2 separate regions of the Homo sapiens genome follow, and region 2 is linked to region 1. Evidence: promoter capture Hi-C in human tissues and cell types (Jung and others, 2019). All regions are on one chromosome and are shown on one strand. The core of a region is centred on a gene start or on the middle of the fragment in contact, and the rest is flanking DNA. Distances in the headings are between cores, read along the strand shown.

Region 1 (4,261 bases), core at 906-3,405:
CCCCTGAGAATGTCCCCCAGAGCACTGTGACTCAGACAAATGTGCCTCCCACTCCCAGGCTGTGGAGCTGGGGGAGGCTTTTAAGATGCAGGCAGTGTCTAGGTCTAGCCAGACAGCCACTTAGAATGAGCCACTCTGTGCACTGACCGGGGACATGCGTGGCTCTGGAAAAGAGCATAAGGGAGGGTGTTAAGGCAGGAGGCAAATGTGCCTGAGAGATGAGTAAGTGGAAGGTTGTGGAAGAAAGCCCCTGAGTGCCAGGAGTAGCACCTGCGTCAGCAGTGCCTGAGGATGTGTGTCTACCTGGTGGAGTGTGTAAGGGAATGTGTATGAGATGAGGTGGGCGGGAGCAGATGCTGTCTGTGTAGATGGGGGCTGTTGCTTTCCTGTGGCAGAAGATGCACATCAGTGCTGGTTCCGGAGTGGTTCCATGGGCCCTTCTTCCTCACCTTCGGCCCCTGCTCTACCCCCAGTCTGGCTGTGAGTTGCTCTTGGCCCCAGGAGGTACTTCTGCAGAAACACCTGGGCTGGGAGAGGGAGCCAAGTGGGGGGCGGGGAGGAGTGGGTAAAGAAAGGGAAACCTGAGGCTTCCCAAACCCTCCAGAACCTGCCATCCTCCTTCTACCTAGAGTGGGAACTCAGGGTCTAGGGCCCAGGCTCAGGACAGAGTGATAGCAGAACAGCCGTCCCAGAAGGAGGATCCTGCCTTTCCCATGCTCAGCCCACCCCAGCCTGTTGCTCCCCAGCATTCTGGTAACTCAGTGTCATTGCCAACCATCTTTTTGCACCCTGAATGGAGTAATAGACTCCAAACAAGTCCTCCTTCTGAGGCCACCAGGTAAGTACATAGACACCCCCACGCTAATCTTCCTTTGAGAAAAAAGGCCCACTGCTCTGAAAAGCCAAGTGGCCCCACTGAGCAGCACTCAGAAGCCTCAATGCTCCAATGCCCCTTACTTGGGCAGCTTCTGTGGTCTACTAACAGCCCCACACAGCTCCCTCCCACTGGTCTCTCAGCTCAGGACCAGCATCTCCCCTCCTAGAGCCTCAGTCAAGTTCCCCTGGCGGGCGGAGGGCCTGGGTTAACTGGGAACAGACCCAGCAGCTCCGCTCCATGGGCGCTGCCAGGGACATTACAACATTGCTATGCTGGGTCCATGCCAGCTCCCCCAGGGATGGGAGGAGAGAGGGTGCCAGACGGCCAAGATCGGTGGGTGGGGGTGTGGGGCAAGCAGGGCCAAGCACCCAGATGGAGGGAGCAGAGCGAGGGTGGAGCTGGGGCAGGAGCACGCAATAGAATTTGGTTGCACGTTGGGGGTGATGGCTGGGCAGCAGGAACCAAGCGTTCCTTCCACCTCCAAGGCTTAACTGTGGTCATGGAGCTGGGGGGGACAGTGCCTTGTGGGGAGCAGGGGACAGGTGTGTGGTCAGCCTCCTGACTCCTCCCAGCTCCAAGGGGATTGGAGTGATGCCACTGGAGTCAGAGGGGTGGCAATCCTGTTCCAAGCGTGGAGCTCCGTCTCTGCGAGGACCCTCCCAGATTAGGACTCCCAAGCCAGAGCCAGAGGAGAATGTCTGGGAACGCAACTGGGGGATCCTAACAGCAAGGGTAATGCGGTGTCAATGATGCCAGGTCAGAGTGGAGTGAGAGGGGAGTAGCCAGGTTGACCGTTTCCTCACCCTTCATGAACCCCACTCTGGCCTTGAGGAAGGATCCTCAGTACTCCCTCAGGAAGCCACCTAGGGGCTGAGGAGCCCCACTACTCTTGCAAACCTTAATTCCTCTGTCCCCAAGCATACTGTCCCCGACCCCCACAACGCCGCCTGCTAACCCCGCGGGCTCACCTTCCCGTTGGCCGCAGTCTCTGCAGGTCTGCGCCCCCCGAGGCCTCGCAGTGGACCCGGGGCTCCTGGAGCTCGCACGGTGCCACCCGCGTCTTCTCCAGTCCGGGGACCCCGTTGCACCCGGCCCGGGTCCGTTCGGCGCCGAGAGTCCCTGGGATTCCGGGGTGGACCTGACGCTGGCGGCAGGGGCTGCTCCAGAGGTGGGGCGCCGGGAGATCCTGGGGGCCCGCGTCGAGATCGCCGTCGCCAAGCTGGGTCCCGGGTCCCGCCGCCCGCTGCTGTAGAGCCGCGGCTGGAGCGAACGCAGCCCGGCCCGCCCCCTCCGCGTCCCCTCCCAAGCCGGCCCGGCCCGCCCCTTCAGCCCCTTTGGCCGCCTTCCCACTCCCTTCTTCCGGGGAGCCGAGCCCGCCCTCCCGGCCTAGGCGGTGAGTGCGCGGCGCCCGCTCCTCCGCCCCGGCGCGCGGGGGAGACGCGGGGCGCGCCCGGGGCCCCGCCTGTGCGCCGGGAAGGGGGCGGCCTCCTCCCGCGGGTCTTGGCCGGGAGGATCGCACGCGTGGGGCGCCTGCAGGAAGTGGGAAGGGAAGAGGCTGTCTGTAAAGCCCCTGCCTGGGCTCGGGCTCGGGCTCGGCTTGGGTCGGACACCCGCGGAGCGAAGCGCAACTGGCGGACCGTGGCAGTTCAGGGCAGGGCAGAGCCCTGCACACACCCCCTCGCGCCTCCCTCCTCTTCGGCTTTAACTCTAGGAACTAAAACAGTGGGGCTCCTACTCAGCTTGGAACTAAGGTGGGCGTGAGCTGAGCAAGAGAGAAGGAAGGAAAAGCAGGGGGTGGAGGGAAAGACAAACTGAGAAATCTGGGAGAGTACGGGCGGTGGTAGGGGGAGCCGAGGCAGCGGGAGAGGGGGGCGTCTCGGTATGAAAGCGTCGCCGTGCTAGCCGGGAACTCTTTTCTCTTTTCGTGTCTGGATCTTGGTCAACGTTGGGGCTTCTGAGTCGAACCTCCCTCCATCTACCCTCCCCAAGGGGCAGGGCAGTCGGGTTGAAAAGGGGAAGCGCTGCTGTACGCCTGGCTCTGACATGGCTTGGGCAAGTCGCTGCACCTCTGGGTGCCTCCTCCCTCGCCCGCGCTCCGGAGAGAACCTCCCTGCAGTGAGGAGGGGCGGTGCAAGGTGCTCTCAGCTGGCGCCTGGAGGCAGGGTTGAGGAACCGAGGGGGCGCCGCGAGGAAAAGTGTTTCCGCCCACCTCTAACCCCTTCTCTAGCCGAGGACGGGGATTTGGGGTCTATTGTTTGGGTCCTACAGAGCTGGGCTGGGGCCTTGCCACGAAGTGTTGCTACCACCTGCTGGTTTTTCTAGGGAGCACAAGCACCCGGTGCGATTCCCTTTGCCCCCTTTTCTCCCTGTATCGCCCTGTCCCATCTTGCTCTCCTGTTTATTAAAGCAAATGGGCTGATCAAAACTGGTACTTAAAGAGCATTCAGAAGCCGAAGAAAATTGTGAAAGAGATCTATGAGCCAACAAACACAATAAACAAAACAATGAAACTCAGTAAGAGTCACCTGGGAGAGACAAACAGGCTTTAATGAATTGACTGAATGAGTGATAGAAAGATAAAGGCTACCGAGCAAGTTCCCACTTGGCCAGGGGTTTGTTCACTCTTAATATCAGGAGTCAATAAATAAGTCTGATAGTATTTAATGACTGCATTTGGACGTCATTAATAATTCCACTTGTACTGACGGTTCTACTTTATCTTGTTTCTTCCCTTTGCCCTGAAACTCAGTGGTGGAGGGCTTCCTTCATTTTCTGGTTATCTCCAAGGCTTTCAAAGACTTCTGCAAAGAAACAGAATTTGCATTGTGTGTGGAATTACGTAACTCATACATTAACATGCCTGATTGCTAGACATCTATGGTTATATTGAAAACTTAAAAAAAAGACACATAACTAGATTATGTTAAAATAAAAATATGGACAAAACCAAACCGTAGTTGTTACTTTATAAAACCCAGAAATTCCTGTAGTAATTTGCAACGTATCCTGTATTGACATAACAGTAAAAATATCTGCCTTCTTTTCTATTTCATGATATACCTCATATTAGGTGACTATAATATGAAATGAAGTTTTTGCTGCTCAAGGCTTGTGTAATTAGTTATATTTGTCTTGTTAATAAAATTTGAGAGGCATCTAGTTTTCAAAGGAAGTGTCATACTCAGGATGCAAAGAGGTTTAAATTTGTGATTAGTCGGCTTTGCATCCTAATTGCCTATGTCTTATCAAACCAAGTTTTAATGGTAGGTGGAGAGCATAGAATGCATTGTTAAAGTATGCTGCAACCTGCAGCTATTAAAAAGCAAAGTAATGAATTCCTTTTTAAAGTTTAATGTAAATTTTTTGCTATAATTTGTTTGGTGC
Region 2 (4,261 bases), core at 1,204-3,703, 600 kb before region 1:
AGAAGAGAATGAACACTTAAACTTAGGTCTTGACTCCAAGACACTAACACATTCTTTAAGAGTCGTTGTGTCATCTGGTTTAGCTCTTTTCATCACCAATTTCATGCCTTGGAAGCCTTTTAATTTCGAAGATAAAGGCCAAAATTAGAACCCTGATAGCCTCCCCTTCCCAAATCTCTGCTAGTGTAAGACAAGGAGGAGGATGCCTACAGTAGAATGCCAGGGGTGGTGCAAGAAAGTGTTTGACCCTCATTTGGTCTTGGGAATTAGTGATTAGAAGGGCATCTGGCTGTGATTAGGGCACTTGACTAACTTATTCCAAATTTCTGGGTTCTGACTCAGGATTCTCTAAGTTCAGGAAAGCCATTTACAAATTTCAAGTCACGGCAAAAGAAAGGAAGTTTCTTTGAGGCTTTTGCAATTTTACTTCTCAGAGCTGGGTTACTACCGGTTGCTGCAGGACTGGGCTGGTCCAGGGAAACTGGAATCGAAACCATGCTAGTTCATAAAGTATGATGATGTCAGAAACAAGCACAGACCAATGTAGATCAATACTGCAAGTCAAGGAGGGAGTCAAAGACAACAATCATAGGGCTAGACCAAGCTGGAGCAAACAGGCCAGGAGCAGAGTCCTCCTTGGGAAACCACTTAACTTTTCCGATTATCTATAAGACAGTAGAACTTAAGCAGAATTTAGAATCCAAGGTTTAAACTCAGCAAAGAAATGTGAATGGAGAGCATAGGAAAGCAGAGGAAAATATCTCAAGGTTTAATTATTTTTTACTCGAATGAGAATGCTGTTGATTTTAGGACAGGGACTGCACTCTGTCACCCAGACTGGAGTGCAGTGGTGTGATCACAGCTCACTGCAGCCTTGACCTCCCCGGGCTCAAGCAATCCTCCCTTCTCAGCCTCCTGAGTAGCTGGGACCACAGGCGCATGCGACCACACCTGGCTAATTGTACTTTTTGTAGAGATGGGATTTTGCTATGTTGCCCAGACTAGCCTGGAACTCCTGGACTCAAGCGATCTGCCTGCATCAGCCTCTCAAAGTGCTGGGATTATAGGTATGAGCCATTGCTCCAGAATTTAAGATCCTTCTTGATGTGAAAGAGCCAGAGCTTCTGCCACGTAGACCCTCCAGAAGAGAACAGGGTTCATGGACATGCTGTTGAGTGCATGTACCTGCAACTGCAGCAAGGCACGTGGCTCTGCCTCTGGGTCATTCTGTAGTTGTAAAATGTTCCACAAGCAACTACTGAGCTGCTCATTGTATCTGAAGGACTATACATTCTTTATAGCCAAGACTATGCAATATTTCTCTCTTTCACTGCTCTAGTAAAAATGTTTAAGAATTTCTAAAGTTTATGATTCTTTCATTCATCAGCACCTGTGACTCATTGATTCTTCCTCACAAAGTGTTCATGATCATTCATCTTCTGATTCTCAAAAGGATTTGCTCAAAGAATGTTTGCTGAACACAGTATAAGGTCTTAATCACTTAAATACATGCTTTAATTTCAGACACTTCTCTTTGTTTTATAGGGAGACACACGTTGTTCTCTCAATGGACAAGGATCTTCTTCAACCCCTGCATCCCCCACATAGTGGCACAAAGGAAATATTTGTTGAATGAATGAGGTTAGTTGCTTTTCCTTTTTAAAATAATCTTGATGTGTCACTACATATTTTGGTACAGATGCTTTCAATATTTGGTTATTCAAGGAGACTGAGTTGGCAAAACTTTAAATAGATGCTATGATAGAAGCAGTAAAGCTTGCATTTAGCTTGGAAATGTTGAGAAGAAACATGTATACATTTTCATCTTCATGATCCTCCTCACCTAAAGCCGTGGGCTACTGGAATGTCTGCAGAGTATGTTGTACATACAAAGACATTTTCACTCTTACTTGTTGGAACCCCTGAATATATCTGGTCCCATCACCACAGGTTGGTGGTGACATTTTTCAAAACTAAAATTAAAAAATAATGGATCAGTAAAACTTCACCATAAGAATACCTGTAATAAAAATTCCCAAACACAGATAATGGAAAATGTAATGTTATTGACTCGGATAAATATAAGCCATTGGCTTTAACTTGAGAAATACAGCTTTTCCCCCAACTTTCTTACAGATTCCTCAATTATAGTACAGAGGAGTTAAAATTTAAATGCTTCCCAACTCTAAAGTAGCTGGTCCAATGTGGACCAATTTGGATCAGCTACTTTTCTTCTCCATTTGAAACTTTCCAACAATAAAGACAACAGTCTTCTTGTACTTGATCCCTACAGAATTAAACAGATGCTGCTTTTGGTGTGGACCCAAATCATAGCCCCTCAAGGAGTTTGTCAGCAGATTTGGAAGCCACCAACTTTTAAAAGTAAAGTCCTAATCCCTTATTTTATGAAAATTATACTGCCACTGGAGGCAGAAATCTATCTTGTCCTCAAAAACATTGCACTTGGTTGGGCACGGTGGTTCATGCCTATAATCTCAGTACTTTGAGAGATTGAGGCAGGCGCATCACTTCAGACCAGGAGTTTGAGACAGCCTGCGCAACAGGGCAAAACTACATCTCTACAAAAAATGAAAAATAATTAGTAGGGCATGGTGGTATGCGCTTATAGTCTCAGCTATTCAAGGAGGCTGAGGTGGGAGGATCCTTTGAGCCCAGGAGTTTGAAGCTGCAGTAAGCCACGATTGCACCACTATGCTCAGCCTGGGGAACAGAGTGAGAACTTATCTCAAAACCAAACAAACAAACTATTGCAATTTAGTTTTGATGTAAAAGGTATAACAATCTGAGTACATAGGAGCAGTTTCATATTTTAAAAAAATCACCTTGAGCAAAATAGATAATGAAAGTATCATGTAAATAGTGTATTTTAAATAGTTTATTCAACCTCTTTTTAAAAATTGTTTGGCTTACTGAAAGAAAAATAAAAGTTTTCAAAAAGAACTGTCCCCACACACAGTCCCCTACCCCCAACTAGCCTTCGATTTCCATCACTATAGTCCAGAACAAGTATTATTTATAGTTAAAAGATGCATCAGTCAGCTCAGCTAACTAAAGTTCCAAATGCATTCAGCTGCCTACTGCTGAAGCCCAGTTTCGAAAGCTTTTATCTGTCACCAAGGCCAGCCATCCACACCATTGAAACTCAGAATCATTACAAGCCTGTGACAGAGGCCAACCCCATGAGCAGAAGCTCCCTCTCTGCCTCACAATTCTGATTTCACTTCAAAGATCCAGTTTCCCTCACAACCCTCCTCCTATCTGAGGTCTTGTTCTTGTGACTTTTTTAATCTCAAGATTACCCCCATTCACTTGAGTGAATCACAATAGAGTGGCCAGCGATATGGGCCTAAGTATACAAGAGTTCAGAAAAGGAGGCCATGCATGACTTTAAGAAATGTCGAACCTAATAGATTACTATCAAAGATAAACAGAAACCCCAATATCAAGTATTTGAAAAGTACAAAATTTGCAGCAAAATATTACAAATAAGTAATACTAAATAATGGACTGTATCCGATTAGTTTCCATTTTATAATTCTCTCAGTACTAGGGTCAAATATGAACTATTATATTATACTTCATTAGTGGTCACTTCAGCTCTTCACTGCTTCGTACTCCTTTAACTGGTGTATATATGTTGCATGGTAAATTTCTTGAATGTTAAGATCCTACTTTTATAACCCCATTGCACTTAGCAGGGATGTACACCTAGACCTCCATATCAAAGTGATCAATAAATGCTTGTTAAGATGTATATGAACATGGAAGCAATTACTCGTCTCTAACAACAACTGTGAAAAATGTGGAGGCTCAGTGTTGTATCAGTGAACCAGCAAAATCACCAGTTTCTGAATGTGTAAGAGAATATCAATTGATGATCCAGCTTCTAGCAGCCACGCCCATTTCTACAAGCATAGAAATGATGACCTGTTGCATAATAATAGTAGTCTAGTTAATTATAATAAAATAATGTATGCATGTGTTCAGCAAATATTTATTGAGTGCCTACAATTTGCCAGTAAAAACAAAACAGACACAAATCCCTGTCTTCGAGAAGCTTACATTAGAGTGGGGGAAATAAACCATAAAAAATATAAATAAGTAAAAGAGATAGTGGTAATACTAAGGAGAAAAAAACAGGACAGGGAATAGTAGTACAGGGTATTGCAATTTAGATAGAGTAGCAATGACAATTCCTGAAATAAGTGAGGGAGTGAGCCATGCTAATATCTGGGAATAG

What was found. The method cuts DNA at HindIII sites, captures the fragments that hold promoters and counts their contacts. A contact is called where the count stands out against the background at its distance.
Region 2: a fragment that was not itself captured here is called in contact with the fragment with the promoter of EPHB6 in region 1 in 1 of the 25 tissues and cell types used here (spleen).

Annotation. Positions count from the first base shown.
Region 1 is chr7:142,852,970-142,857,230 of GRCh38, reverse strand. EPHB6 (EPH receptor B6) reads right to left here and starts at 2,155. Exons shown (of 20, transcript NM_004445.6): 1 at 1,846-2,155. The HindIII fragment of the contact is 9,136 bases long and covers 1-4,261 here.
Region 2 is chr7:143,454,588-143,458,848 of GRCh38, reverse strand. All of the region lies in intron 2 of EPHA1-AS1 (EPHA1 antisense RNA 1), which reads right to left. Among named protein-coding and RNA genes, the nearest start is that of TAS2R60, 13 kb to the right of the region's middle. The HindIII fragment of the contact is 5,522 bases long and covers 1-4,261 here.